Regions from separate parts of the Homo sapiens genome. Here all the other regions are linked to region 2. The links are contacts of gene promoters, found by promoter capture Hi-C in human tissues and cell types (Jung and others, 2019). All regions are on one chromosome and are shown on one strand. The core of a region is centred on a gene start or on the middle of the fragment in contact, and the rest is flanking DNA. Distances in the headings are between cores, read along the strand shown. Region 1 has its middle 31 kb from the start of S100B. Region 2 holds the start of DIP2A (disco interacting protein 2 homolog A). Region 3 overlaps DIP2A (disco interacting protein 2 homolog A). Region 4 overlaps DIP2A (disco interacting protein 2 homolog A). Region 5 overlaps PCNT (pericentrin).

Region 1 (5,639 bases), core at 668-3,167, 120 kb before region 2:
CAATCCCGTTACTGGGTATATACCCAGCGGAATATAAATTATTCTATTACAAAAATATATGCACATGTATGTTCATTGCAGCACTATTCACAATAGCAAAGGCATGGAATCAACCCAAATGGCTGTCAATGGTAGGCTAGATAAAGAAAATGTGGTACATTTACACCATGGAATACTATTCAATCATAAAAAGGAATTAGATTGTGTTCTCTGCAGGGAGATGGATGGAGCTGGAAGCCATTATCCCCAGCAAACTAACGCAGGAACAGAAAACCAAACACCACATGTTCTCACTTATAAGTGGGAGCTGAACATTATGAACACATAGACACACAGAGGGGAACAACACACACTGGGGCCTGTTGGGGGGACACTGGGGGAGGGAGAGCATCAGGAAAAATAGCTAATGCATGCTGGACTTAGGTGATTGGTTGATAGGTGCAGCAAATCACCATGGCACATGTTTGCCTATGAAACAAATCTGCACATCCTGCACATGTACCCTAGAACTTAAAAATTTTTAAAAATTGCCATCGGGGGTCACTTGCTTTCAGTCTGATGGACTTTCTTTAGTATTTATGGTGATGTCAGCCAACAACAAAATTTGCTTATCTAAGAATGTCCTTATTTTGCTTTCATTTTTCAAAGGTGTATACCTTTTGTATATCTTATTTGGAGAACTGTCTTACAGCTTTTTCTTTTTCAAAATTGCTTTGTTTATTCAGAGTGTCTTTAGATTCTATATCAATTTTAGAATGAGTTAGTCTTTCTGCAAAAACCATAATTAGAATTTGGATAGGGACTGCCTTGAATCTGTAGATGGCTTTGAGTAGTACTGACATCTTAACAATATTAAGACTTCCAATCCATGAACATAAGATGTCTTTCCACTTATTTCTTTGTATTGTTCGATGTTTTCCATTCAATGTTTTGTACTTTTCATTTTATAAGTCTTTCATCTCCTTGGTTAATTCCTAAATATTTTTTGATGCTATTGTCAATGGAATTGTTTTCCTGATTTCCTTTTCGAATTGTTCATTGTGAGTGTATGAAAATGCAACTATTTTTGTGTGTTGACCTTGTATCCTGCTATGTTGCTAAATTTATTAGTGCTACTTTTTTTTGTGGAATCTTTAGGCCTTTCTACATATGAGATTATATCATTGGCAGAGATAATTTGAATTGTTTCTTTCCAATTTAGAATCCTTTTTTTCTTGCCTAATTGCTCTAAGAGCTTCCAGTTCTGTGTTGAGTGGAAGTGACAAACGCAGTCATCCTTGCTGTGTTTCTGATCTTATCAGAAAAAGCTTCTGCAGATTTTCACTACTGAGTATGATGTTTGTTGTGGATTTTCATATATGGACTTCATTATGTTGAAGTAGTTTCCTTTTATTCCTAGTTGTTTTTTTCTTTAATCATTATAGGGTACTGAATTTTGCCAAATGCCTTTGCTGCATCAATCGAGACGATCACATGTGGTTTTTCCCCTTCATTCCATTAATATGGTTTATTACATTGATTGTTTTATATATTGAATCATCCTTACATTCCAGGAGTAAACCCCACTTTGTAATGCTATATAGTGTTTTTAATATGCTGCTGAAGTCAGTTTGCTAGTATTTTATTGAGGATTTTTACATCAATGTTCAGAAGGAATCATGGTCTGTAGTTTTCTGTTTTTGTAGTGTCTGACTGGTTCCAGTATCAGGATAATGCTTGCCTCATAGAGTAAGTTTGAAAGTTTTCCCTCAACTTTCTGAAAAAGTTTAAAAAGGATTAGTGTTAGTTATTTAAATGTTTGGTAGAATTCACCAATGAAGCCATCAGGTTTTTGTCAATAGATCTTTTATTACTTAAATCAATCTCCTTACTAGTTATAAGTCTACTCAGATTTTCTATTTCTTCATGATTAGTCTTGATATGTTTTGTGTTTTTAGGAACTTGTCTATTCTAGGTTTTTCCATTTGTTGGCATACAATTGTGCATAGTATTTTTTAATGCTTTTTATTACTGTAGAATTGGTAACGTTTCCAATTTTATTTCTGATTTTAGTAATCTGTCTTCTTTTTTTCTTGGTCCATCTAGCTAAAATGTCAATTTTGTTGATCTTTTCAAAGAAACCATTTTTGGCTTTCTTGATTTTCTCTGTTTTTCTATTGTCTCTCATCTATTTCTGCACTAATCCTTACTTCTGCTAACTTTGGGTTTAGTTTGTTCTTCTTTTTTAGTTTCTTAAGTTGTAATGTTAGTTTGTTAATTTGAGGTCCTTCTTGGTTTTTAATGTAAGCATTTATAGCTATAAATTGCTTCTTTAGCACTGCTTTTGCTGGGTCCCATAAGTTTTGGTACATTGTTTTTATTTCCAAGTATTTTCTAATTTTTCTTGTTATTTCTTCTTTGATCCATTGGTTGTTTGAAAGTGTGTTAATTTTCACTAATTTCTGTATTTTCTCAGTTTTCCTTCTGCTATAGATTTTTAACTTTATCCCAGTTTGGTTTAAGGAGAGACTTTGTATATTTTTAAATCTATTGAGACTTAATTTGTGGCCTAACATGTTGTCTATCCTGGAAAATGTTCCATGTGAACTTGAGAAGAATGTGTATTCTATTTTTATTGTTGGGTAGAATGTTCTGCATATGTCTGTTAGATCTAGTTAGTTTGTTGTGCTGTTTAAAGCCTCCATTTCCTTACTTATGTCTTATTGTTCCATCCATTATTCAAAGCAGGGCACTGACATTTCCAACTATTATTATAGAACTGTCTATTTCTCCTTTCTCCCTTCTATTGTCAGTTTTCATTTCATATATTTTGATGATCTGTCATTGTATGTGTAAATGTTTACAATTGTTACATCTTGCTGAATTGAATCTTTTATTAATGTCCATCATTTCTTGTAATCATTTTTTATTTAAACTATATTATTATAGCTACCTCTGCTCCCTGTTGATTACTATTTGCATGGAATATCTTTTTTTTTTTTTTTTTTTTTTTTTTTTTTTTTTTTTTGTGAGAGAGGGTCTTACTCTGTCTCCCAGGCTGGAGTACAGTGTTGTGATCTTGGTGCACTGCAATCTCCACCCATCAGGCTCAAGGAATATTCCCACCTCAGCCTCCTGAGAAAGCCACAATGCCCAGCTAATTTTTGTATTTTTTTGGTAGAGATGTGGTCTCTTCATGTTGCCTAGGCTGGTCTCAAATTCCTGGGCTCAAGAAAACCACCTGCCTCAGCCTCCCAAAGCGCTGGGATTACAGACATGAGCCACTGTGCCCAGTGAATATATTTTTCCATCCTGTCACTCTCAATATATTAATACTGTGTCTTTGGATGTGAGTCTCTTGTAGACAGCATACAGTTAGATCCTGTTTTTTCCCCATTCTGCCAATCTCTGTCCATTTAATCTATTTACAGATAAAGTAATTATCAATAAGGAGAGACTTACTTCTGTCACTTCATATTCTATATGCCTTATATCTCTTTCATTTCTTGTATTGCGCCCTTCTGTGTTTTTTTTTAATGAAACATTTAAATCCCTTTCTCACTTCCTTTTGTGCATACAGCCATGCATTACTTAACAACAGAAATATGTTCTGAGAAATGTGTTTTTAGGTGATTTCATCATTGGGGGAACAACATACAGTGTATATGTATCTACACAAACCTAGCCTACAACACACCTAGGCTATATGATATAGCCTATTGCTCCTGGGTTACAAACCTGTCCACCATGTAACTGTACAAAATACTGTAGGCAATTGTAATGCACTGGTATTTGTATATCTAAACACATGTCCAAATTTAGAAAAGGTAGTAAAAATACAGTATAAAGGATTAAAATCAGTACACTTGTACAGGGCACTCAGTCCATTGTATGTTGCTTATAACAGAACACCTGAAATTGGCTACATTATAAGAAAAACATGAATTTATTTCTTAGAATTATAGCAGCTGAGAAGTCCAAGGTTGAGGGCCACATCAGGTCAGGGTCTTCTTGCTGGTAGGGACTCTCTGCAGACTCCCAAGGTAGTGCAGGGCATCATATGGTGGGGGCGCTGAGCATGCTAGCTCAGGTCTTCATCTTCTTACAAAGCCATCAGCCCCATTCCCATGATAATCCATTAATCTATCAATCCTTGAATAGATTAATCCAATCACCTCTTAAGGGCCCCACCTCTTAATACTGCCACATTGGGGGTCACTCAAATCATAGTAAGTACTTACCATTAATGGAGCTGGTAGAACTCAAAGTTATTTTGGGTGTAAGTGGTGAATGAATGTGAAGGCCTAGGACATTACTGTACACTACTATAGACTTTATAAACATTGTACACTTAGACTACACTAAACATAATTTTTCTTCAATAATAAATTAACCTTAGCTTACTGTAACTTTATAAACTTTCAAATGTTTTTAAGTTTTTGGCTATTTTGTAAAAACATTTAGCTTAAAACACATTGTACAACTGTGCAAAACATTTTTAGACATCTTTATAAACTTTTTTCTCTAAAAATTTTTTATTTTTTACATTATAAACTTTATTATTAAAAGCTAAAACCTGTCAATAAACTAGGTATTGGTGGACCATATCTCAAAATAATAAGAGCTATTTATGACAAACCCACAGCCAGTATCATACTGAATGGGCAAAAACTAGGAAGGATTCCCTTTGAAAACCGGCACAAGACAAGGATGCTCTTTCTCACCACTCCTACTCAACATAGTATTGGAAGTTCTGGTCAGGGCAAACAGGCAAGAGAAAGAAAGAAAGCATATTCAAATAGGAAAAGAGGAAGTCAAATTGTCTCTGTTTGCAGATGACATGATTGTATATTTAGAAAACCCCATCATCTCAGCCCAAAATCTCCTTACTCTGATAAGCAACTTCGGCAAAGTTTCAGGATACAAAATCAATGTGCAAAAATCACAAGCATTCTTATACACCAATAACAGACAAACAGAGAGCCAAATGATGAGTGAACTCCCATTCACAATTGCTACTAAGATAATGAAATACCTAGGAATACAACTTACAAGGGATGTGAAGGACCTCTTCAAGGAGAACTACAAACCACTGCACAAGGGAATAGGAGAGGATGCAAACAAATGGAAAAACATCCCATGTTCATGGATAGGAAGAACCAATATCGTGAAAATGGCCATACTGCCCAAAATAATTTATAAATTCAATGCTATCCCCATCAAGCTACCATTGACTTTCTTCACAGAATTAGAAAAAACTACTTTAAATTTCAATATATTGGCCCACTACCTTCTGGCCTCTAGTTTCTGATGAGCAATCTGCTGATAATCTTATTGAGCAGCAGTCCCCAACCTTTTTGGCACCAGCGACTGGTTTTGTGGAAGACAATTATTCCACAGACCAGGGGGCACAGGACGATGGTTTTGGAATGGAACTGTCCCACCTCAGATCATCAGGCATTAGATTCTTATAAGGAGTGTGCAACCTCGATCCCTGGCACGTGCAGTTAGTTCATAAGAAGGCTTGCATGCCTATGAAAATCTAATGTCACCACTGATCTGACAGGAGGCAGAGCTCAGGTGGTAATGCTCACTCACCCACCACTCACCTCTTGCTGTGTGGTCTGGTACCTAACAGACTGTTAACAGTCTGTGGCCCA
Region 2 (5,725 bases), core at 1,050-3,549:
AGTAGCTGGGACTACAGGTGCACACCACCATGCCCAGCTAATTTTTTTTAATACTGTAGAGACAGAGTCTTGCTATGTTACCCAAGCTGTTCTGAACTCCCGTCTCCAAGCCAACGTGGCCTCCCAAAGTGTTGGGATTACAAGCATGAGCCACTGTGTACTCAGCCTGTACTTCCATTTTTAAAAATGTGCCACAAGCCAGGCACGGTGGCTCATGCCTGTAATCCCAGCACTTTGGGAGGCCGAGGCAGGCGGACCACCTGAGGTCAGGAGTTTGAGACCAGCCTGGTCAACATGGTGATACCTTGCCTCTACTAAAAATACGAAAATTAGCTGGGCGTGGTGGCAAGCCCCTGTAATCCCAGCTACTCGGGAGGCTGAGGCAGAAGAATCATTTCTACCTGGGAGGCAGAGGTTGCAGTGAGCCGAGATCACGCCATTGCACTCCAGCCTGGGCAACAGAGCAAGACTCCGTCTCAAAAAAAAAAAATGTGCCACATGTCACAACATTGTTAAAAATCTGAATGCTGAATTCAAAATAGTTGCAAGTACATGTTGTATTATATGTAAAACAAGATCACAACAGCATCTACCTCCCTAAGGTTGGCAAGGATTAAATGACTTACTGTATGCTAGTGCATATTATTTAGATGTTTTGAGAAATAACTACCCCAGACCCAGCAAAATCTTATCAATCTGAAACTTAAATTAAGGATAATAAGATTATTTAAAAAATGGATTCTAAAAGCTGAAAATGCATTTAGATCTCAAAAACAGAGTAAGAATCAATTACATGCTTTTCTTCAAGGACTGCAAGTCCTTTCTGACACTGGAGAAGAACTTAACTCTTTCCCAAAGACAGCCAAAAGGAATATCAGGACACAGGCCTTGAAAGGGATAACATCCAAATGGGAAATGCCACCCACCACCTCTGAAGCCAGATTACTCCAGTCTATTTTTATCAACCAACCATTTATACGACTTTTTTTTTTTACTTTAAAAAATTCCATGAGGGGGCTAACAACTCCTAAGTGTTATGTGCTTTGCATATATTAAGGTATTTTAGCCTCATAACAATCCAAAATGGAAAGTGCTGGTATAACCCCACTTTATAGATAATAAAATGAGGCACAGGGTGCAGCTCCTAGAGTATGAGGCGCGCGGCAAGGGCTCCCAGCTCCAAGGGAAGTAGCTGCCTGCGGACAACGGGCGCAGTCATCCTGGTGAAGCCCAGACCAAGCCCAGACCTACAGCCTTGAGAAAAGCGGGGCTCACAGCTTGGGGCAAAAGTGGTCATTCCTCTCAAGATTCTCACACCTGTCCAAACGACCTAGTCAAAGCCAGTCCTTGGGGTCGGATCCCATTGGGGGAGCAGCTGGGGATAGGGAAAGGTCTCCAGAAGTTTGGCAGGCGTCCCGGGGTGAGGAGTAAGGGTCCCAGGTGTGAAGGGCCTGGGGGGAGGAGTCCTTGTATGGGGGAGGGGTCCTTGTATGAGAGGCGGGGCAGTGGTCCCTGGTTTGAGGGGCCGCGCGGGTGTCCCGGGGCTGAGGGTCGGGAGTCCGGAGGGGCAGCGCGGGGCTCCCAGGGTGAAGGGCGGGGTCCCCGGGGTGAGGGGCCGCGCGGGGTTCCGGGGGTGAGGGGCAGGAGGTCCCGGGGGTGAGGGGCGGGAGTTCCCGGGGGTAAGGGGCCGGGGTCTCGGGGCGAGGGGTCGTGCTGGGGTCCCACATGAGGGGCGGGGTCCTAGGGTTGAGGAACGGTGTCTCCGGGGCGAGGGGCGGGTTCCAGGGTAGAGGAACCGGGGTCCCGTTGAGGGGCAGAGGTCCCAGGGGCGAGGCCGCGTGGGGGTCCCGGGGGTGAAGGGCGGGGGTCCTGGAGTGAGGGGCCGCGCGGGGGTCCCGGAGTGAGGGGCTGCGCGGGGGACCGGGCTGAGGGCGGGTCGCGGGGGTTGAGGGCGGGGTCCGGCTCACCTTCCGACAGCTCCAGCTCCAGCTCAGCCAGGCTCTCCCGCACCTCGGCAGGCAGCGGCGCCGCCTCCAGCGGGCACCCGCGGTCAGCCATGGCCAGGCCGGCTAGCGTCCGGGCAGAGGCTGGAACCGGACCGGGCCTGGCGGCGGCAGCGCAAACCTCGGCTACGTAGCTCCCCTCAGGCCAACAACCTACATCCGCCAGGCGAGGAGCGGGAGGCGGCGGGACAGGGGCGCGGCCAGGACAGCAACGCACCCGCGCGGGCACGAGCGCGGATGGCTCCGCCGCGCCGCCGCTGCCCCGCGCGCTCCTGAGCGCCCGGCCGGCCCTACACGGGAGCGCGTGCGCGGCGGGAAGGGCGGGTAGCGAGCGCGCGTGCGCAGTGGGTCTCGGGCCCGCGCAGCCCTCCCGGCCCCGCCCAGCAACACCAGAGCCTCGCTTCCATTGGCCCCGAAGACGCGTCGATGCCGCTCCGGGCTCCCATTGGGAGAGGCGGGAGAGCGCCGCTCCCGACAGGCTCTGCGCTGGGCCTGCTTGAGGGTGGCGGGCTTGAGGCGGGCAGGCTGCTTAGTTGCGGCCCGAGGCGCCTAAGTGGGGATGACCAACCCGTGGGCGTTGGCGCTGACCCCTAGGCGCCGCTGGTGGCCCCGCGCGCGGCCCTCCGGCCAGCCCCGCCCCTCTCGGGGCTCCTCCTTGGTCCCCGCGCCATGGCGCGTCCGCGTTGACCGCTGTCTTCCCTTTCGGGCTGTGCTGATCGCGAACGCTGCGCAGTCCGTGGTGGCGTCGAGGCACCTTTCTCGTGCCTTTACCTGTGTTCACTCCTTTGCTTTAAAAAACAGCCCTAGAAGTACACATCGTTGGCCCCGAAGGAGCCCCAGCAGCCATGTCGGACCGCGAGGTGACCTTGGAGGGCGGGAGGACGGACGAGGGGCCTGGCGGAGCTAGACTGAGAGGGCGCCGCCGGCGTCCTGAAGGCCCTGCTCCCCGAATGTGTGGGAGTGTGTCTGACGGTGCGAGGGTGGCTGTGGCGGGGCCTGAGCAGCGTGTCCGTGTCCCGATGCCGCCCGCCTGTTACTGAGTTAGGCAGGAGTGCCCGAGTCTGGCGAACTTCAGCAGTTCTCGTTCCAGAGCTCCACACGAGGTTGGCCAAAGCTTTGCGGGACTTACATACCCTTCTTCCTCCGCCCAGTCCTGCTTCCTTCCCCTTCCTTTCACGGGTGTTGATACCATGTCAACATCCTCGTACCCCAAACTCAGTCGCAGCGTCTGCTTCTGGAGAAACCATTCTGCAGCATTAAAGCTGGTGAGAAGATGGGATTCGAGGCTGCATCACTCACCAGTGGTGAAGTAGGAGGGTGAACTAGTGAAATGGAATCCACGAGTGGGTGAAGTATCAGACATTTCATATATGGTGAACGTAGTAGATAAAAGGAAGGAAAGGGGGATTGGATAGCTATTGCTTAGTGCCAACCGAGACTCTTAAGAATAGTGGTCAGCTGAAGGCAAGCAACAAACAGTTGTAAGCCAGTGAATCTGTCCCGTTACATATAGAGAAGCTTCATTTACTGCAGCAGGTCAAAGACAAGAACCAGGCCCAGGAATTAACATCCCTGTTTGACTGAACTCCAAAAATAGCAAAACACCCAAACAAGGCAATACTCTTCCACTAAGTTTGGATCCCTGCTAAGAAAAGATGAGGCTGGGCACAGTGGCTCACACCTGTAATCCCAGCACTTTGGGAGGCCAAGGCGGGAAGATTGCTTGAGTTCAGGAGTTCAAGACCAGCTTGGGCAACATGACAAAACCCCATCTCTACTGAAAACACAAAAAATTAGCCGGGCATGGTGGCCACGGCTGTGGTCCCAGCTGCTTGGGAGGCTAAGGTGGGTGGATCACCTGAGCCCTGGAAGTCAGGGCTGTAGTGAGCTGTGACTGCACTCCAGCCTGGGCAACAGGAGTGAGACTCTGTCTTTTAAAAAAAAAAAAGAAAGAAAAGAAAAGCCCGTCATACATGGGTTGGAGATACCTGGGTAGATGCCTTCAAAGGTTTTGACTCCCCAAACTGCCTTAAACCTTTTTTTCGTAGACAGTGTCTCACTCTGTTGCCCAGGCTGGAGTGCAGTTGCTGGATCATGGCCCACTGTAGCCTCAACTTCCTGGGCTCAAACGATCCTCCCACCTGAGCCTCCTAAGTAACTGGGACTACAGGTATGTGTCACCACACCTGGATACATTTTTTATTACTTGTAGAGGCAAGGTCTTGCTATGTTGCCCGGGCTTGTCTCAAACTTCTAGGCTCCAGTGAGCCATCACACCTGGCCTGCCTTGAACCTGAAGCCTGCCGGGGTGGCTCACCTCTCCTATTAACCTGACACTACTCCTCCTCCCTCCACTTACTGCTCAGTAGATGTATAATTATGGTTGTTTCTTTTGCATTATTCAGCTGGAAACAATGAGATAGAAAAGAGAATATAGCTCCCTCCCCCTCAGAAGAACTGCGTTATTAGTTTGCTGGGGCTTCAGTAACAAACTGGGCAGACATTTATTGTCTCCCAGTTCTGGAGGCTAGAAGTCTGAGATCAAAGTTTTCACAGGGTTGGTTCCTTCTGGGGCTGGGAGGGAGAATCTGTCTCATGCCTCTCTCCCAGCTTCTGGTGGTTTGCTGGCAGTCTTTGGTTCCTTGGCTTATAGAGGCATTGTCCCAGTCCTGCCTTTATATTCACATGGTGATCTTGTTGTGTGTGTCTCTCCAGACGAAGGCATAAGTAACATCATTGACAAAGGTCATTCGACATGGGCCTCTTTTTAGAAGGACACCAGTCATACTGATTAGGGCCCACTCTAATGAGCGCATCTTAACTTGTCTACAAAGACCCATTTCCAAATAATGTCACATTCACATTGACCAGGGGTTAGGGCTTCAGCATCTTTTGAGAGGGACACACTTCAGCCCATAACAAGCTGTACCACCCAGCCAACATGTACTGACAGGAGCTGGGAAAGTTTGGGGCTGGATTATGAGGGTGCTTGATGAAGGGAGCTGGAATGTAAACTTGCATAGATGTGTTTATTGAAATACGTGATTTAACACCTTGGCAAAGAGTGGCTGCAGACTTCCTGCAAGGATGGCTCCTAGAATGGCGGTATAGCTACTGCTGCCTAACAAATTACTCCACACTTCGTGGCTTAAAACAAGAATCATTTCTTATCTCTAGGTTACTGTGGGTCAGACATAGTGGGGATCGGTGATCTCTCTAGGTTACTGTGGGTCAGACATAGTGGGGATTGGTTATCTCTCTTCCACAGTGTCTGAGGCCTCAGCTGGAGCAGTTCAGAGGCTAGAGGTTGGAATGAGTGAAGGTTCATCTGCTCGAATGTCTGACAGCTGATACTGGAGATTGGCTGCAGCCCAGATTGGGGATGTCAGCCAGCACACCCCTACACGGCCGGTCCCTGTGGCCGAGGCTTTCTCACAATATGATGGCTGGATTCCAAGGGCAATCTAAAGACAAAGGACAAAAGAAAGCTGTATCCTTTTTGTGAACCAGCCTCAGAAGTTGCATACCATCACTTCGGCTACTTCCTATTTGGAAGAAATGAGTCACTAAATTACCCATATTCAAAAGGAGAGGAATTAGGCTTCATCTTCTAAAGGGAAGAATATCAAAAAATTTGCCAGTATATTTTTAAAACACCACACTTGGAAAAAGCCATGGGCCATGGTAAGCAAAATTGAAATGGCAAAATTGCTATGGCAGAC
Region 3 (5,451 bases), core at 133-2,632, 75 kb before region 2:
GCACCTGGCCTGAACACCTATATTTTAGATATTTAGACATACCATTCAATTTCACTCAGTAGTTTTGTTCAATTCTAGTATTACAATGTAAGAAAACTACTGAGTCCATTTTTACAGTTTTTAAAATTGTCACAGTGTACCCCATAAATATATACAATTAGTACTTATCAATTAAATAATATTAATTTAAAGATATCTCAAGTTAAGTATCTGACATTTGAAGTAAATCAGGTGCTGACTATACTTTATCAACAGATCATCTATAACCATAAAGATTCTACTTATATATTTATATCCATGACAGCTGAGGTCAAAACTACAGTCATAGATAAAGTAATAGAAAACTAAAAGTGTTTTCCTCTTTTTGAATGAAAAATGCCCTGACCCTCAGTATGTCACAGAGTAAGCCAGCCCCCCAGGGCAGGCCTGTGAACCCAGCACTGTGTATAAATCAATCAGTGGGATATAGGTTCCATGTTCCATAAAATCAACATCCATGTGCATTTACTGAAAACAACCCTGATGGGGTTGTCTGGACTCTGCTAAGAGACACCGTGTGCCCTCTTGGCCAGCACAACCACAGAGACCCTGTAAGCATGCTAAAGACAGTGCATCTCCCTACCTGGCATGACCCGGATTAATGGGCAAAGGCACTACCCAGGGGTGGTTTTGACAGGTGCAGTGACAGTCACATGATTAGGTACGTCAGGTATCTGTGTGAGGCTGGAGGGGCCACCGCCCCACCCCCGAGAGCCCTTACCTTCTGAGTACCCGCACGCCTGGGTCAGAGCCCGGCACTGTGCCAGCAGGGATGCGTGGGACACTGTGACCCCCACCGTACTGCCTTCTTTGCTGGTTTTATACTGAAAGATTTCAAGGAAAAAAACATGATGTGGTATTTCTAGAGGTGACAACAGACAGAATGGAAACTGGTAGAATCTTCAAAAGAAGAAGTGGTCAGTGTCTCTCCTCTAACCATCGGCCTCTAACCAGCAGCCCAGGTACATGGCAAAACCCTGGCCGCTGAGGGGATGCTTCAGTGGAAGTTGTGGCTCCTCTTGGGCAGGTGCCCGAGGGTAATGGTGCGCCATGGGCTCCCTCATAACTGTCTGCATCCCCAGGGAGCCAGTTAGGAGAGAATTAGATGAGAGAGAAACCTGGAAGGATCTGAGCAAGGATTTATATGACACTCTGTATTTCCAGGGCAGAGATAAAACAAGAACTCTTAGGCCGAAACTTAACAAAAAAGAATAGCAACTTACATTCTTATGAAAAGCAAGACTTAAGCCTGTGGGACATGTTTTTACATTCTCTAAGTTAGGAACAGTCATTACCTCAATGTAGGCAGTCCCAGTCCCTGTGTCCTGGGCCAGAGGGTGCCAGTCCTTTGGGGGCTTGGCTAGATGCTTCCCATCAATCACTAGCCAGGAGAGCGGGGGCCAACCTGTGACACACAGACAGGACACAGAACAGCAAGCAGTCAGAGGCATCTGCTCCCCACACTCGAAGCCTGCGCCTCCAACATGCAGCACTAGCTACTGAGCGAATAAGGAGTGCAAGTTTTAGTCTCATTTCATTTTATATAATTTAAAAAGGTACATCCGGCCAGTGGCTACCACATTAGACAGTACAGGTCGAGACATGAAGCCAGATGAAAACCGAGATTCACCAAGGACTCGAACAAGGGATCACTTTTGCTGAAGACCCAGACACCTCTGTCATGTTTAATTTCTGGAACACCATGCATTTAACACAGACCACAGTCAGAACACTGACTCCCCTTCCCTTGGGAGGCCTCACCTTTGAAAGCTGCCACCTCTCCTGTCTGTGCCTTGGGGAGGCCTTTCTGACAAGCGTCTGTGGTCAGGGCCAAGAAGACTCCACAGCTGCCCAGCAGAAACCCAACCTGCTGGCTGCCTGCATCCTGCAGAAAGCAGAGTGACCGTGTGGGGTGGGGTGCTCACAGCAGCCACAGCCCCAGACCCTTGGTGCTCCAGGCCATGCACAGAGAACAGATCTTTTTTTCATCCCTCATAAAACTTCCAGAATAATTCAGTCCCATTATTGATATATATGATCTTTTCACGGAAATAGTTCATGAAAATGTGACAACTATGTTTAAATTTAAAAGATAATTTTGGTTTGTATTTGTGTTGAAATATAAAGTTTAATGGGCTAATTTCTCAAAGTTTATTCTTACAAATGACATTTAGAAGCATTTTTAATAAACTCCAAAGTTAATGGCATTGAAATTTCTATTGAATCATGTTTGAAATTTACAAATTAATCTAGAGAGGCCTGGTCACCAACGATATTAAATTATTTCCACACAGAAACACATTTCCTTGTAGCCAAGTCTTCTGTGTCCCTCAGCAGTATTCTGTCATTTTCTTCATATAAATTTGACAAATCTCTAGTTTTACTCCTAAGAACCACTGCATTCAAATACCTGCCCATCACATATTATGCTTTGAGATACACTAGTTTGATTTGCAAATTTTACTTTTGGGATTCTTGAATATTTCTGGATAATGCTCCTGTTAACAACTGCCTGAATTCTGGGACAGGATGACAGAAAACTGATTTTCTCAAATTCATGCCTTGTCTATTTTTTTTCAGTAATCATATTATTGATAGTTATATCAAAAATGTTACAGATACCTAGATCAGCAAGACCCCACATTAATAATTTATCAGCAACAGAAACTGCCTACGGTCATATAAGTGAACAGAAATGCAAGATAATTTCCATCTCGTTTATTCAAAACTGCCACTGAGAAGTGAGCTATATCACTGTAATGATATATTTATCCCTAAGAAATAATAATTATTTTCTATAAACATATGGTTTTGAGGAAAAGTTGAACAAAATCTTATTGAATCATAATTCTATTCATTAGAGGAAAAAATGGCTATCATTTCTGTTGGGAAATTCATGTAGATGATAGAACAGCTCCACCTAATAAGAGTGTGGTGTGGGAGCATCACCAGCAAAACGGTTCTCAGTGCCCCTCTCATTAACAAGAAGAGAGGCAGGCAAAACGGCATCTGATTTCTCTTGAGTCCTGGCCAGCCTGTTGACTACTAGCTTTCTCTCCTCTGTCAAAACAGCTGCTTGCTGCCTGCCCACATGAGTGAAAAGGAAGTAAGATACTGCTGGTATCAAGTTCAGAAGCGAACCACACGGGACCTGAGCCATGGGTTTGCTACCTTTCTTGTTAATGGCACTTCTATGGGGACAGGAACCAGCTCTGCCAGGAGACACCCATAAAATGCAACCATGAACATCACAGGGTCACTATTCGGAAACACGAGCGCCACCTACAACAGGACAAAGAAATGAATATTCCAAATTTCCAATTTTTACAATATCTAGTTAAATTAAAAGCTAGTTATAAATAAAATTTTTGTAAGCCCCAAATATTGTAATAATTGTGCTTGAAACCATAAGGGACAAGTCCAAATAGTATTTAACTGAGTAGAGACAGTTGACTCAGGGCCTTTGAGAACACGCAACAATGAATAACCAATAAGTGCTGACTTTGTAAGACAAAATTTAAGCTGTATCTATATTCTGTACTTGAGGTCTGGAAATTTAGTTTCTAACAAGTTTGTTTGTTGAAAAGGGCAAGGTTCTCCTTCAAAATTTGGTTTTAACAGTGGTTGCCCAGAATGTAACCTATAACCTTCAGACTAGATGTTTGGTATGGAAAGTATATTTTTACAGAATTTGTTAGGAAGAGCTGTGCTCACTTTTATAAAGTGTAATATTATAGGAGGCAGAATTTGCCACCAATTTCTTCAACTCAATCACTGTGACCTTGTCCATTTTATTATGATTCACCTAACCAAAGAGATTCTCTTGCAAGTCAAGAATCTGAAAGTCTTTATCCTTGTAAGAATGTTTTTCAAGAAAATTAGTGATTCTTGAATTCATTCTAAAGCGTTGCATAAAATCTCATCTATGAGCACAACATATCATAAAGTATTATTCTTAAACTGTTTACATTTTTATAGCCAAGTACACATTTCCTTTCTTTTCTGATAACAGCTACCTCCATTTCTACTTGCGTTGCTTTCTGTGTATTCTCTAGCTAATTTGTTTTAAAATACTCCCTCAGCTGGGTCAAATACCCACCTACTGGTGGGTCATTTTCCAAATAACCACCCACTCAGGAGAGCCGTGAGTGTCCCCTGCTGCTGAGGACTCCACTGCTGAGGGTCTCGGTTCTCCTGATGGTGGGTGCTGAGGATTCCACCCCACCCTGGAGTCTTGGTTCTCCTGATGGTGGCTCTGCTGCCCCCCCTGGACTGCTGCCAGTGATCGTCCTGGGGCCTCCACTGTGGTCCTCCTGCTTGCACCCTACTCACTCACTCACTCATGTGGCTGAGGGACATCTTCTAAGAACTTGACAAGAAAGTGCTTGCGAGCCAAACGTTTCTGAGTCCTGCATGTCTGAAAATGGCTATACTATTCTCAAATCTGTTGAATCTCTGGGAACAGAATTTTAAGTTAAAATTATATTCCCTCTGAATGTCTGAAGCATCATTCCACTCTCTTTCAGTTTTACCAATGAGAAATCCCAAAAGCCACTGTCATTGCCAATCCTTTGTGTACATCCTACTTTTCCCCTGAAAGCTCTGGGATTCTTTTCTGTACCCCTCGTATTATGCAATATTATGGGCATGCGTTTTGGTGTGCATCCTTGAATGTTTACACTCTCCAGGTCCGGGATATTGTCCTGAATTACTATTTTCATTTAAAATGTTCTACTTTCTGTTCTCCTTTCTCTTTCTCGACTCCAGTTATCAGTCAGGTGTTGTGTCTTCTTGATCGAGTCTTTTTGTCCTATTTTACTCCGCTCTCCATCTCTTAGTCTTTCCTACCGGCATCCTTTTCTTGACTTATGAAACATCTTCATCTCTGATTTCCAAGAATATTAATACTCACTTTTTAGAAACATTGTTTTCTGTATCTAGCTTTCCTTGTTGTTTCCTCTTTCCTCCCTTCCTTACTTTTCTTGTCTCTTTCTCACTCCCTCTCTTCCCTTCCCTTTTCTTTGTCTTTTGGTATTTTCTCTCATATTGACATTTCCTTCTTAAAAGTCCTTGGCTAATAGTTCATATTAAAGACTTAGGCACTGAAAGAGCTACTTGGAACTGTCTGCCAGCTTGTTAACCTGCAGTTTCCTTGTTGGGTGATCTGACACAGGTGACCTTCTCACTAGGGGATTTCACTGGTATGTTGATTTTCACCATGTTCTCCTATTTTCCACCCTGGACTTTCTAGTATACCAGGGTCCTCCGGTCTGGTCCAGCTTGCCTACAGTAGTACTGTCCAACAGAAGTTTCTATGATGACAGAAATGTTCTACCTCTGATCTATAAATACAGTAGCTACTAGCCACACTCCTACTGAGCCCTTGAAATGTGGCTTGTGCAACCAAGAAAC
Region 4 (6,155 bases), core at 1,305-3,804, 91 kb before region 2:
GGAACTTGTTTTCTAGCAGGAAAGACTGATTTTAAGCCTCCTGAGAGTAGGGGTCCTTTTAATCTTATTACTGTGCACTGTGCACATTGTAGGCATCATTAAGTATTTTTTTAATTCGAATGAGCAGCACCAAGAGCTAGAAGAGCATATTCTAAGCCACAGTGACCTACTCTTTACGACACCAAAGCTTAAGAGTTCTTACAGCTTGTATGGTGCGTGGGACAGGAAGCCTTGCAGGGTTTTAAGTTATTTAACTTTCTGTGTTTCCGCATTTCGCATTCCTGCCCACAACCTGAATATGAAGATTACAGCTTCTCCTTCTTGACATCCTGAATGTTCCTAGCACAGTGGAATGCACACAACAGGAACTTGAAACACATGAGAATTTCCAAATCAGCAGCAGGAGCAGGGCAGGAAGCAACATTTGTCATTTAAAAGCTGTAACCAAATGTAGAAATTCTAAATGGCTAATTTTTTACAAAATAAACATTTCCTTTTAGCTCACAAACTTAGGAATATTTACATGTATACTGTTTTTAATTTTAAAAACTTGAGCTGATAAAAATTTTCCTGCTAAACACAAAATCAATAGAAATACTATTGTGTGAAATGTGTGGAAAACAAGAAAGGAAAGGGCAGGCAGCGAGAACCGCACCAGACAAGGGGGCTGAGTCCACAGGCACCCTGCTCTCTACGCATGAGAACAACCAGGACGGGGGCTGAGTCCACAGGCACCCTGTTCTCTAAACATGAGAACAACCAGGACACTGGCACCATGAACTAGACAAGCAAAGGGCTCCACCGGCCCACAGGTGTTTCCAAGCCCCGTGGGCGTGACACTGCCTCACCTTGGCGTTCAGCAGCAAGAACAGCGGGTGGTCAGGAGTGGTGTGGGCACGCCACTGCAGCACGTCAGCCAGGAACAGGAACTGCACGAGAGGGCGACTTGCTCACTGGCGCCTCCGGGGCACAGACACCCGTCCACCCGTCCCCGGAACTGGCCTGTCACCTTCCGTGCCTGGTCGCTGTCCTCCAGGTGGGCGAGCTCTCTCCCGGAAGCCTGAGCGATTCTCTTCCCAGCAACCAGGTTCCCCACGATCATTGAGGCTGGTCCAACCTCTAGAAACGGGGGAACTCTGAATGAAAAGCTGGTGACTTCTCATATATAAACATCACGTGATTTTATTTACAATTTTTATTTTGAAAACATACTTGAATGAGGCATTTAACTCTTCTACTGAGATACAAATATTCAGAAAGCTAGCTACAAGGTTTATGCTAAGTGACAAAGAGAATTTCTCTCTTGAACATAAACTACGCCTTATTGAGAAGTTTACTACACGACGCATCTCAGAGGATACGATTTGGCCTCAGTCACAGCAAAATTCTTAACATATTTTGTTTTACTGTACTTTATGTATAAATCAGGAAATTAAATCTTCCTGATGAAATGTATTTAGTGATATGTGTTCAATAATTAATAAAAAAAAACTTTGGCATGTACTAAAAATCAACAGGACCAAAGAAATGAAAAATTGCATTAAAGTTAAACCAGTCTCTAAAATTAGCTTTTAAATGTATAAAATGAGGGAAGGCAAGTTGGCCGTTTGCTGAGAGATTTCCGAGGCCACACAGACACTGGGTGATGTGATGTGTCCAGCTCGTCCAGCTCCAGGATGATCCTGGGCAGCATTTCTAGCCCTAGGGAGCCATCTCCTAGCCATGCAAAGCTAAGATGCCATCCTTGAGTTTATCATTAAAATTGGTTCCTAACAGGCAGGTGGAAACCACCATGCAGGTGATGTGGTTAAGTTCCCCCATGCGTGGCTGGTTCCAGGAAGGCGGGAGGTGGCACCATTCTGGGGTGCACACTCGCTCTGGCTCTTGACCCCAGCCCCAAAGACGTGGGCAGTTGGCACTGGAGGTCTAGCAGGGCCGCACCCTAACCACAAGCACCGCTGTTACCACTGTTAGACTAGAGAGCATCCTGTTGTTAGGTTCAACTAACCTGGTTGTTTCTGACGAGGTTTGGGGAGGTTGGTAACACAGGTGTGAGGGCACATCAGCACATTACACGGGTGCAGCGTCCCTTCCAGAAAGCGCTGTTTGGTTTCAGAAATGTGAATCCCTCCGAGAGGAGCCTTGGGCAAGGTGTTGGCAGGAACCAGGGCCAGACAGTACACGCCCACCTGGTGGATGCTATCAATGGCCTGAAAGGGAAGGACCCTGTTTGGCACAGGCCCCCAACTTGAGGCTGGGGAGATGCTGGGTGGGGGACAGGAACATCCCCTCTGTGGACCTGTTCCCCAGGCCAGGAAATGGAATGCCCTCTGGACACTTTGTTAAATGAGGAAACAAGATGAAGAGAAGTGTGTGCAGTTTTCTACCATTTAACTCAGAAAGGGGAAACACACACACTGTATTTGTGTACACATGTCCACAAATCTGTGATCAGAGGCTGAGGGATGGGGCAATGAGGAGATGATGGTGAAAGGGCACAAAGCCTCAATTAGACAGGAGGAGGAAAGTTTTTTCTTTGAGATATATTGCACAGACTGGTGAATATAATAATGTACATTTCAAAATCACTGTGAGAGTGCATTTCAAATGTTCTCATCAGAAAAAAATAAATATTGAGGTGATGGATATATTAATTATTCTATATTGTATTCATAAATTATAACATCACTTTGTATCCCGTAAATACATACAGCTGTAATTTGTCAATTTGCAATGAAAAATACAGATAAACAAAGCTGGAGCCAGGGAGGACCGGGCGGGACAAGCCAACCACTTGGCACTTGGAGTGGAGTGGGGGTGCCAGCTTGGGAGATTCACCGAACCATAGGCCGTGCCGGGGCGCCCACCTGCAGCACACGGCTCATCCACTGGAAGCTGTCCTCCTCCGAGGCATCCGGCCGCTGCTCAGCCACCAGGACAATCCGGTCGTCGTGCAGCACGGTCACAGAGAACACAGCGATCCTGCGGGATGAGACATGGAAATGGCCACACGGCAAGAGGCCAAACAAGACACAGATGCATTCTCACCCTCACGATGGAAGAGGCAGACTGTCCTAGTATTTAAAATGCAGTCTATCAAATGGGGCTACCTGCTGCACATTCAAAAAGTAACTCATCATTCTAATCTCCTCGAGGATGGTTGAAATGTGTCTCAAGTCACAAAAAACAGAGGACTTCAGGACAAAGCAAAACAGCTCCAAAGACACACATTTTTACAAGAAAAAATTCCTTAATCTGATGTAAATTTCCTTCTGCACAAATCTTTGTCTAAAAGTTCTATTTATTATATTTTTTTAATCCAACAGATCGCATCTCTATTTTACTAGAGTTAGTCTATTGACATTTATAGTGATTAGTATATTTAGACGTGTTTTTACTATCTTAAAAATTTCAACATGTCCTCCTTTTTTCTGTGTTGCCTTTTCCTTCTTTTAGACTTTGAGTTGATATCTTTGTCTTTTCTTTCATAAAGTAAGAAGATGGTCTCCCCACCAAACCCATCATGTTAGGATGTCTACCATTCTGACTCTGGGACATTATGGATATACCGTCTCTTGTCCTTTCCTTTGACTTGACTGGTGTGTGTGTACACACACACACACACAATTTACACAACAGACCTCACCTAGTACTGAGTTCTCCTTACTCTCATACATCTTATAGCACATCTTGAATTTATTTCTCTTAGTATCTTGACCAAAACTGTTTTCAGTACGGACCTCTGTGTGTTAAAACTTCTGAAACTTACATGCTTAAAAATATTTTTTATTACAACTGCACAATAAAGTGACAATTTGGATAAATTGGGTGCACTGTTATCTTGTGCCAGTTCCACTGTGGGGAAGTCTGATGTGTTTTGCTTGGCTTTTGTGTGGTCCATGGTGAGAATACAGATAAGCTCAACATGCCATGGGGCCCTCTGTGGACCACTTCCCAGTCCAGAGAACCCCAACCACCTGCTTCCTCAGACAATCCCTAACCACCACTAAACATATCCCTTCTCCTTGAGTCTGCTATCTGGACACCAGCCCTTATTCTCTCCCATCTCTCTTAATAGTTCCTTTAAAGTTCCTATTTTACTTCCAGAGTAGTTCCCTAATCTGACTTTCCACCTTCTCTACTTGTTCTCTAGCTGTATCCATTTTATGTATTCCATCTACTGTGTTCTTTGAACAATTACTTTGTTAGCATTTCTTGATCTTAGTTCATGTTGCAAATCTTCTATTGCTCTTCTTCCAATGGCACATATACTCTCAATTGGTTGTGGTTCCACTTCCAAGCTCCTGTATTCCTCAGCTCTTCCCTAGTGGGGACAGGGAGGCTATCCTGCCTGCAGACGCAGTCACCATCAGGTACAGGTGGCCCTGCGAGGGGGTGGTCTCCCTGCTCCACCTCAAAGCAGGGTTTGGGCTACCTTGATGTTATCCCTAAGGACACCTGCCCAATGTGTCCCCCATTTCTGCTGTGAGGGGGGTCATGACCCTGGCTGTGCCACCCTCCCCCTGCACGCAGGCGCACACAAACACACACACACACACACACACACACACGCACACATGCATGAGCACAGCCTGCCCTTCCCAGCCCCCTGAGCAATCTCCCACCTTCTCTGTTGTCCATCCTCTGGGCTTTTTCCTCAAGACTAACCATGATGACACACCACTTTGCAGAATCCCCTCACGATTGCTTTAAGGGCTACTCAAAGGCAGGGTCTGACCTGGCTCCCAAGTACCTTAGTTTGAGTAACAAAAGGCACATCCTTGGCCAGGCACATTGGCTGACACCTGTAATCCCAGCAGTTTGGGAGGCCAAGGAGGGAGGATTGCTTGAGCCCAGGAGTTCGAGAGCAGCTTGAGCAACATAGTGAGACCCTATCTCTACAAAAAAATTAAAAAATTAGCCAGGCGTGGGGTGCATGTCTGTGGTCCCAGCTGCTCAGGAGGTGCGGTAAGAGGACTGCTTGAAGCCCAGGAGGTAGAGGCTCCAGTGAGTTATGGTCACACTACTGCACTCCAGCCTGGATGGGCAACAGAGTGAGACCCTATCTTTAAAAAAAAAAAAAAAAAAAAAAAAAAGGCACCCCCTTGAGAAAAATAAAATTTAAAAAGGCAGCTGGTTGAGTGGACCAGTTAGGGGAAGAGCTTCCTCCCAGACAAGGAGCTTGGGAGTAGAAGAAGCAAAATTCTCTTCCTGGCCCCTGTGCCCAGGGGCATAGGCCCAGAGGTCTATTATTTGCTCAAGAGAATCTCTAAGGTCCTTGCTTTACACATGTAGAAAAGTTGAGTTGATTTTTATTCCAGAGGCAATGGAGGGTGTCATGTGTCTCGCAGAGAAAATGGCACTTTTCTGTTTTAATTCACATTCCAAGGTTATTAGGAACTTAGACCCATTTCTCCTTTGCTTTACTCAATTCTTCCCTCCCTGATTTGTCCCCTTGAGCCTTTGCCCCAAATTTTACATCAAAACCTTATTTTCTTAAGGAATCCAAGGAACTCTTTGGACAGTAAGGATATTAACTCTGGTATCATTGCTGCAAATATTTTCCTTTTACTTTAGGAGTTTTCTGATGTACAACAATTTTTAGGCTTTGTGAATTCAAGTTTGCTGGGCTTTCCATCTACTGCACAAAGACTTCCCGAGCTGCAAATGAAGGAATCTACTCCCGGCGTGGGGGTCCGCAGCGCATCACCTGCCTCTGTAGACAAACTTCATGGGCTCCACGGCCAGTGCGGTGGCCACAACGTCATCTGCATTGTGTCTGCGAACTCCAGTGACCATCAGCCCGTCCAGTTTGCCCACGATGAAGACCAGGTTGTCCTGAGGGAAAGGGTGTGCGTCAAGACTCCACCCACACGGGCAGAAGCTGGATGCGCCAGGACCATGGTCAGGCCCCCCAAGAAGGGGCCAACAGCACAGGAGCCTCTAGCGCCTTGCAAACGGGTCAATGCCCCACAGACCCAATCTGCAACGCAGGCCCTGTGACAAGCTAGGCCTGGAACAGGGGCAGGCTGTGTGGAAGGAATGGGGGCTGGTGGGGCAGCATCAGGAAGGGAGGCAACATGGGAAAGGGGCAGGCTATGTGAAAGAAAGTGGGGCTGCTGGGGCAGCGTCAGCATGGGAAAGGCTCACAAGTG
Region 5 (5,846 bases), core at 2,076-4,575, 79 kb after region 2:
GCACACCATGAATGCGCTTCCGCTGCTGAATGCACAGCACTGTGAATGCACTTCCATCACTGAATATACAACACTGTGAATGCGCTTCCGCCACTGAATATACAACATGGTGAATGCGCTTCCGCCACTGAATATACAACACTGTGAATGCGCTTCTGCCACTGAACGCACAACACCGTGAATGCGCTTCTGCCACTGAATGCACAACACCGTGAATGCGCTTCCGTCACTGAATATACAACATGGTGAATGCGCTTCCGCCACTGAATGCACACCGTGAATGTGCTTCTGCCACTGAACGCACAACACCGTGAATGCGCTTCCGCTGCTGAATGCACAGCACTGTGAATGCGCTTCCATCACTGAATATACAACACTGTGAATGCGCTTCCGCCACTGAATATACAACATGGTGAATGTGCTTCCGCCACTGAATATACAACACTGTGAATGCGCTTCCGCCACTGAATGCACAACACCGTGAATGGGCTTCCACCACTGAATGCACAGCACTGTGAATGCGCTTCCGCCACTGAATATACAACACTGTGAATGCGCTTCCGCTGCTGAATGCGCAGCACTGTGAATGGGCTTCCGCCACTGAATGCACAACACCGTGAATGGGCTTCCGCCACTGAATGCACAGCACTGTGAATGCGCTTCCGTCACTGAATATACAACACTGTGAATGCACTTCCGCCACTGAATGCACAACACCGTGAATGCGCTTCCGCCACTGAATGCACAACACCATGAATGGGCTTCCGCCACTGAACGCACAACACCGTGAATGCGCTTCCGCCACTGAATGCACACCGTGAATGCGCTTCTGTCACTGAATATACAACACGGTGAATGCGCTTCCGCCACTGAATGCACAGCACTGTGAATGCGCTTCCGCCACTGAATATACAACACTGTGAATGCGCTTCCGCCACTGAACGCACACCGTGAATGCGCTTCCGCCACTGAACGCACAACACCGTGAATGCGCTTCCGCCACTGAATGCACAACACCGTGAATGCGCTTCCGCCACTGAATATACAACACCGTGAATGTGCTTCCGCCACTGAACTATGCACAACACTGTGAATGAGCTTCTGCCACTGAATGCACAACACCGTGAATGCGCTTCCGTCACTGAATATACAACATGGTGAATGCGCTTCCGCCACTGAATATACAACACCGTGAATGCGCTTCTGCTGCTGAATGCACAGCACTGTGAATGCGCTTCCGTCACTGAATATACAACACTGTGATTGCGCTTCCGCCACTGAATATACAACACTGTGAATGCGCTTCCACCACTGAATGCACAACACCATGAATGCGCTTCCACCACTGAATGCACAACACCGTGAATGGGCTTCCGCCACTGAATGCAGAACACTATGAATGCGCTTCCGCCACTGAATCTACACTATGAATGCGCTTCCGCCACTGAATCTACACTATGAATGCGCTTCCGCCACTGAATGCACAACACCGTGAATGTGCTTCTGCCACTGAATGCAGAACACTATGAATGCGCTTCCGCCACTGAATATACAACATGGTGAATGCGCTTCCGCCATTGAATGCACAACACCGTGAATGCGCTTCCGCCACTGAATCTACAACACTGTGAATGCGCTTCCGCCACTGAATGTACAACACTATAAATGCACAACACCATGAGTGCACTCCTGCCACTGAACTGTGCACTGAAATAAAGTGAAAATGATTTTTATGCTATACACGTCTTATCACAAGGGAACAGCGTATTCCACACACCTGCTGGACTTGGTGATTCTTCTTTTGAAGCTGCAGAGACAAAGACTCTTTCTCCTCTTGGTGAAAAGGCTGTGCCTGTGCACTCTGAAGCCGAAGTGTCTCCTCTTTTTCATGCAAAGCAGTTTTCTTTTCACTTCCAAATTCACCCTGTACACATCAATAACAATAAAAAATACCAGTAAGCTAGAAAAATACTTTCTTTGCTGTTAGCCGGAATTCAGCACATTCAGCAGATATGCATGGAGCCCCCACTCTGCACCAAGAGCCGGGATGAGCCAGACCACAGCCCCCATCAAAGAAAACATGGGTTCAAGGACTTCACTGGGAACACAAAGTCCTGGTTTCGGGGATAAAACACTTAAGGAGACACAAGTTCGCACTGGTGACAGCTGCGTGTCATAAGCAACTGCTCACTACCATTCCCAAATGGCTCCTGTAACATCTTTAAGAGTCACACTAAGAAGTTCACCATCAAGGAATTACAGCCATGAAAACCCAAGATATTTGGAAACCTAGGTTCCTTCCCTTTTAAAAGATTAAACCTTCTTTCTAAATAACAAAACCTTTTAAATAAGGTTCAATAGATGAATTCTATACACACACACACACACACACACACACACACACACACACACACACACACAGAGATTTTTTTTTTTTTTTTTTGGAAGGACTCTTCTCTGTCACCCAGGCTGGAATGCAGTGGTGTGATCTCAGCTCACTACAACCTCTGTCTCCCAGGTTCACGGGATTCTCTTGCCTCAGTCTCCCGAGTAGCTGGGATTATAGGCGCCTGCCACCACACTCAACTAATTTTTGTAATTTTTCTTTTAGTAGAGATAGGGTTTCTACCAAAACCTGTTGGCCAGGCTAGTCTGAAACTCCTGACCTCAAGTGATCCACCCACACTGGCCTCCAAAAGTGCTGGGATTACAGGTGTGAGCCACTGCACCCGGCCAATTAAATTAATGAAATAAGCTTATTTTTTTAAACTTCCAGAGGTAGCACTTCTAGAATGGCAAAGTAAGGACCTCCAAAATCTGTTCCTCTATAAAAGAAAAAGTGGTAAAAACCATCAAAACCAGTGTTTTCAGAGCTGTGGAAATCTGGTCAGGTTTGCAATCATCCGAAGAGTGTTTATGGAAAACACAGGCTGAGTGTCCATAAGAACAAACTTCAGGTGCTTAACTTTGCCCTGACTCCATATCTCCTCTCCAATCTAACAGCCCTGAAAACCAGTAGCTGCTGGGGTGGGGTGGGGGACAGAATGGATTTGGAGCACCCCAAAATTTCCATGCACAACTGCCCGAGCCCACCTGCCGGGCACCTTGCTGCCGTGACTGGGTCAGAGCTCTCGGTGTCAAAAATTCTACCCAGGGTTGGCCGGGCGCGGTGGCTCACGCCTGTAATCCCAGCACTTTGGGAAGTCAAGGCGGGCAGATCACAAGGTCAGGAGATCGAGACCATCCTGGCTAACATGGTGAAACCCCATCTCTACTAAAAATACAAAAATTAGCTGGGTGTGGTGGTGGGCACCTGTAGTCCCACCTACTCGGGAGTCTGAGGCAGGAGAATGGTGTGAACCTGGGAGGCAGAGCTTGCAGTGAGCCTAGATTGCGCCACTGCACTCTAGCCTGGGCGACAGAGACTCTGTCTCAAAAAAAAAAAAAAAAAAAAAAAAAAAAAAAAAAAAAATCTACCCCAGGGCACCGGTTGGAAACAGTCAGTGTCAAGTGTTTAATAGCCGCACTGCCCACAGTAGAGAAACCAGTTGGGACTAATAAGGGACTGCCAGAAAAACAAAAGAAAACACTTGAGAATGCGATGTCCACAGGGGCCTCTGGAAAGCTCTGACATCTTCTGGGACTCTACAAGGTGTGAACACGTGCAGGGCTGTGCCCACGCTGGAAAGGCCCAAGAGGTCCTGGGCCGGCTGCAGTGACCATGTGGCTTGGCACAGCAGGGGTGAAGGCCAGGGCCAGGCTGTCCACCGCCCGCCAGAGCCCTGAGGGCACAATGCACGCAGGGCCCTCAGCAGAGAGAAAGACTGAAATAGAGCTCCCTTGACATCTGGAGCTGAAAAATACAATCACAGAAAAAAAAATTCACTAGAGAGGGGTTCGGCAGCAGACTCGAGCAGGCAGAAGACAGAATTCACACGCTGGAAGATAGGTCAATTAAGACGATCCAGTCAGGGAACAGAAAGAAACATGAAGAAAACTCAGCAGTCTCCAAGGCCTGTGGGGCACCCTCAAGCCAGACAGAGGGAGAGAAAAGGGCAGAGGAACCCTTGAAGACACGACGGCCAAAAACCTCCCAAATTTGATGAAAATAACAATAATAATAAAAATAATAATCCCCACATACAAGCTCAATGAACTCCAAGTAGGACAAACTGACAGAGACCCACACTTCACCCATCACAGCCAAACCTCAGCAGGGTTCAGGACAAAGCTTGAGGCCAGCCAGTGCACAGCAGGTATATGGGTGCCGCTCAAGACACGTAGCCCCAGGAAGATGGGTGCGGCTCACGACACGCGGCCCGGGAAGACGGGCGCGGCTCACGACACGCAGCCCAGGAAGACGGGCGCAGCTCACGACACGCAGCCCCGGATGACAGGGGAGGCAGCGGAGAGCCCACGCAGCACTGAAGGAAAAGCCTGGATCTTGAAGTCCACATCCAGGAAATGATCTCTCAAGGATGAAGGAGAAATTAAGACATTCCCACAAAAACAAAAGCTAAGAGGATTCATCACTAGCAGACCTGTCCTTCAAGAAATCCCAGAGGAAGTCCTTCGGGCTGAAACATAAGGCACCAGACCTGAATTTCCAGGAAGAAACGAGCAGCAGTAGTGCAGGTAACGACACAGAGAAAACAGGAGACAAAACAACATGGCTTTTGTTTACAATTCTTCTTCCTCCTGGTTTAAAAGACACGTGCATAAAGTAACGAGCACAAAAAGATAGAAAGATGTGGTTGGTACGACAATATGAGCACAAAGGGCAGACGAGGGAATGATGCTACATTAGCAAATGGTTTTGTAAACTTTTAAAATTAAGTTGGTATTAATCCAAACCAGATTGTTAGAAGGTGCTTGCTGTAACGCTCAGGGCAAGCGCTAAGAAAATAACTCAATATATATCAGTCCCCTTTGTCTGCGGTTTCAGTTACTTGTGTTCAACGTCATTTTGAAAATATCGTATGAAAAATTCCAGAAGTAAACAACTCTTATGAGTGTTAAACTGCCTGCCCCCAAGCTGAACGGTGTGAGGAAATCTCGCAGGCCAGGCCGGGGGTCATCCTTCTGTCCGGCGTTATCCACGTGGCAAGCACTACCTGCCCACACGCAGGCATCTCGGTGATCAGACCAACTGTCACAGCATCACAGTGCCTGTGTTCAAGTCACCTTTACTTCATTTAATAACGGCCCCAAAGCGCAAGAGAGGCCGTTCAATTGCAATGCTGCAATTCAGACGTGCCAGAGACACCATAGAGTGATGCCTTTCAGTTAAAAGTTGATGACGGAGCAATTCAGATATGCCAGAGACACCACAGGGTGATTCCTTTAAGGTAAAAGTTGATGACAGGTATGTATAGACAAAAACAGCATATAAGGGGTTCAGAACCATTCACGATTTCAGGCACCCACTGGGGGTCTTGGAATGCATCCCCTGTGGGTAAGGGGCGACCACCGTATGGTAAAGGAAACATCAAGGAAATTAAAGTGAAAAAAGGCAGTAATGGAGGAATACAGAACAAAAAGGGCATAAGATATGCAGAAAACACATACCAAGCAAGTATTGACACATGCTACAACGTGCGCCAACCTGGGAAACACACAAAGTGAAAGCCGCGGACACCGAGGGCACACGCTGAGTCTATGTACGTAGGACGCCCACAGGTACGGCAAGCAGACGGCACATCACCAGGCATGGGGGAGAAGGGAGAATGGGGAGTTTCTTGTTTTCTTCCTTAATTTTCATTGATTATCTTTTGAGACAACGTTTTGCTGTCATGCAGCCTGGAGTGCAGTGGTGCGATGTCAGCTTGCTACAGCTTCAACCTTCT

Evidence for each region. The method cuts DNA at HindIII sites, captures the fragments that hold promoters and counts their contacts. A contact is called where the count stands out against the background at its distance.
Region 1: a contact is called between a fragment that was not itself captured here and the fragment with the promoter of DIP2A in region 2, in 5 of the 25 tissues and cell types used here (H1 embryonic stem cells, dorsolateral prefrontal cortex, heart left ventricle and 2 more).
Region 3: a fragment that was not itself captured here is called in contact with the fragment with the promoter of DIP2A in region 2 in 5 of the 25 tissues and cell types used here (IMR-90 fibroblasts, adrenal gland, aorta and 2 more).
Region 4: a fragment that was not itself captured here is called in contact with the fragment with the promoter of DIP2A in region 2 in 4 of the 25 tissues and cell types used here (IMR-90 fibroblasts, dorsolateral prefrontal cortex, mesenchymal stem cells and 1 more).
Region 5: a fragment that was not itself captured here is called in contact with the fragment with the promoter of DIP2A in region 2 in 8 of the 25 tissues and cell types used here (adrenal gland, heart left ventricle, liver and 5 more).

Annotation. Positions count from the first base shown.
Region 1 is chr21:46,571,014-46,576,652 of GRCh38, reverse strand. It overlaps a transcript of DIP2A not described here. Among named protein-coding and RNA genes, the nearest start is that of S100B, 31 kb to the left of the region's middle. The HindIII fragment of the contact is 3,898 bases long and covers 1-3,866 here.
Region 2 is chr21:46,455,465-46,461,189 of GRCh38, reverse strand. DIP2A (disco interacting protein 2 homolog A) reads right to left here and starts at 2,299. Exons shown (of 38, transcript NM_015151.4): 1 at 1,968-2,299. The coding sequence starts at 2,058. LOC124905046 (a long non-coding RNA gene) reads left to right here and starts at 2,477. Exons shown (of 2, transcript XR_007067915.1): 1 at 2,477-2,863; 2 at 5,272-5,725. RefSeq lists enhancers at 1,106-1,175, 2,946-3,085 and silencers at 1,896-1,965, 2,156-2,705. The HindIII fragment of the contact is 5,308 bases long and covers 1-3,319 here.
Region 3 is chr21:46,529,997-46,535,447 of GRCh38, reverse strand. DIP2A (disco interacting protein 2 homolog A) reads right to left here. Exons shown (of 38, transcript NM_015151.4): 10 at 3,211-3,321; 11 at 1,801-1,924; 12 at 1,335-1,444; 13 at 761-863. Among named protein-coding and RNA genes, the nearest start is that of DIP2A-IT1, 70 kb to the right of the region's middle. The HindIII fragment of the contact is 5,555 bases long and covers 1-4,159 here.
Region 4 is chr21:46,546,598-46,552,752 of GRCh38, reverse strand. DIP2A (disco interacting protein 2 homolog A) reads right to left here. Exons shown (of 38, transcript NM_015151.4): 21 at 5,711-5,838; 22 at 2,868-2,982; 23 at 2,009-2,210; 24 at 1,010-1,119; 25 at 849-929. Among named protein-coding and RNA genes, the nearest start is that of S100B, 55 kb to the left of the region's middle. The HindIII fragment of the contact is 5,357 bases long and covers 1-5,232 here.
Region 5 is chr21:46,377,772-46,383,617 of GRCh38, reverse strand. PCNT (pericentrin) reads right to left here. Exons shown (of 47, transcript NM_006031.6): 16 at 1,778-1,924. Among named protein-coding and RNA genes, the nearest start is that of PCNT, 57 kb to the right of the region's middle. RefSeq lists an enhancer at 4,060-4,840. The HindIII fragment of the contact is 6,085 bases long and covers 283-5,846 here.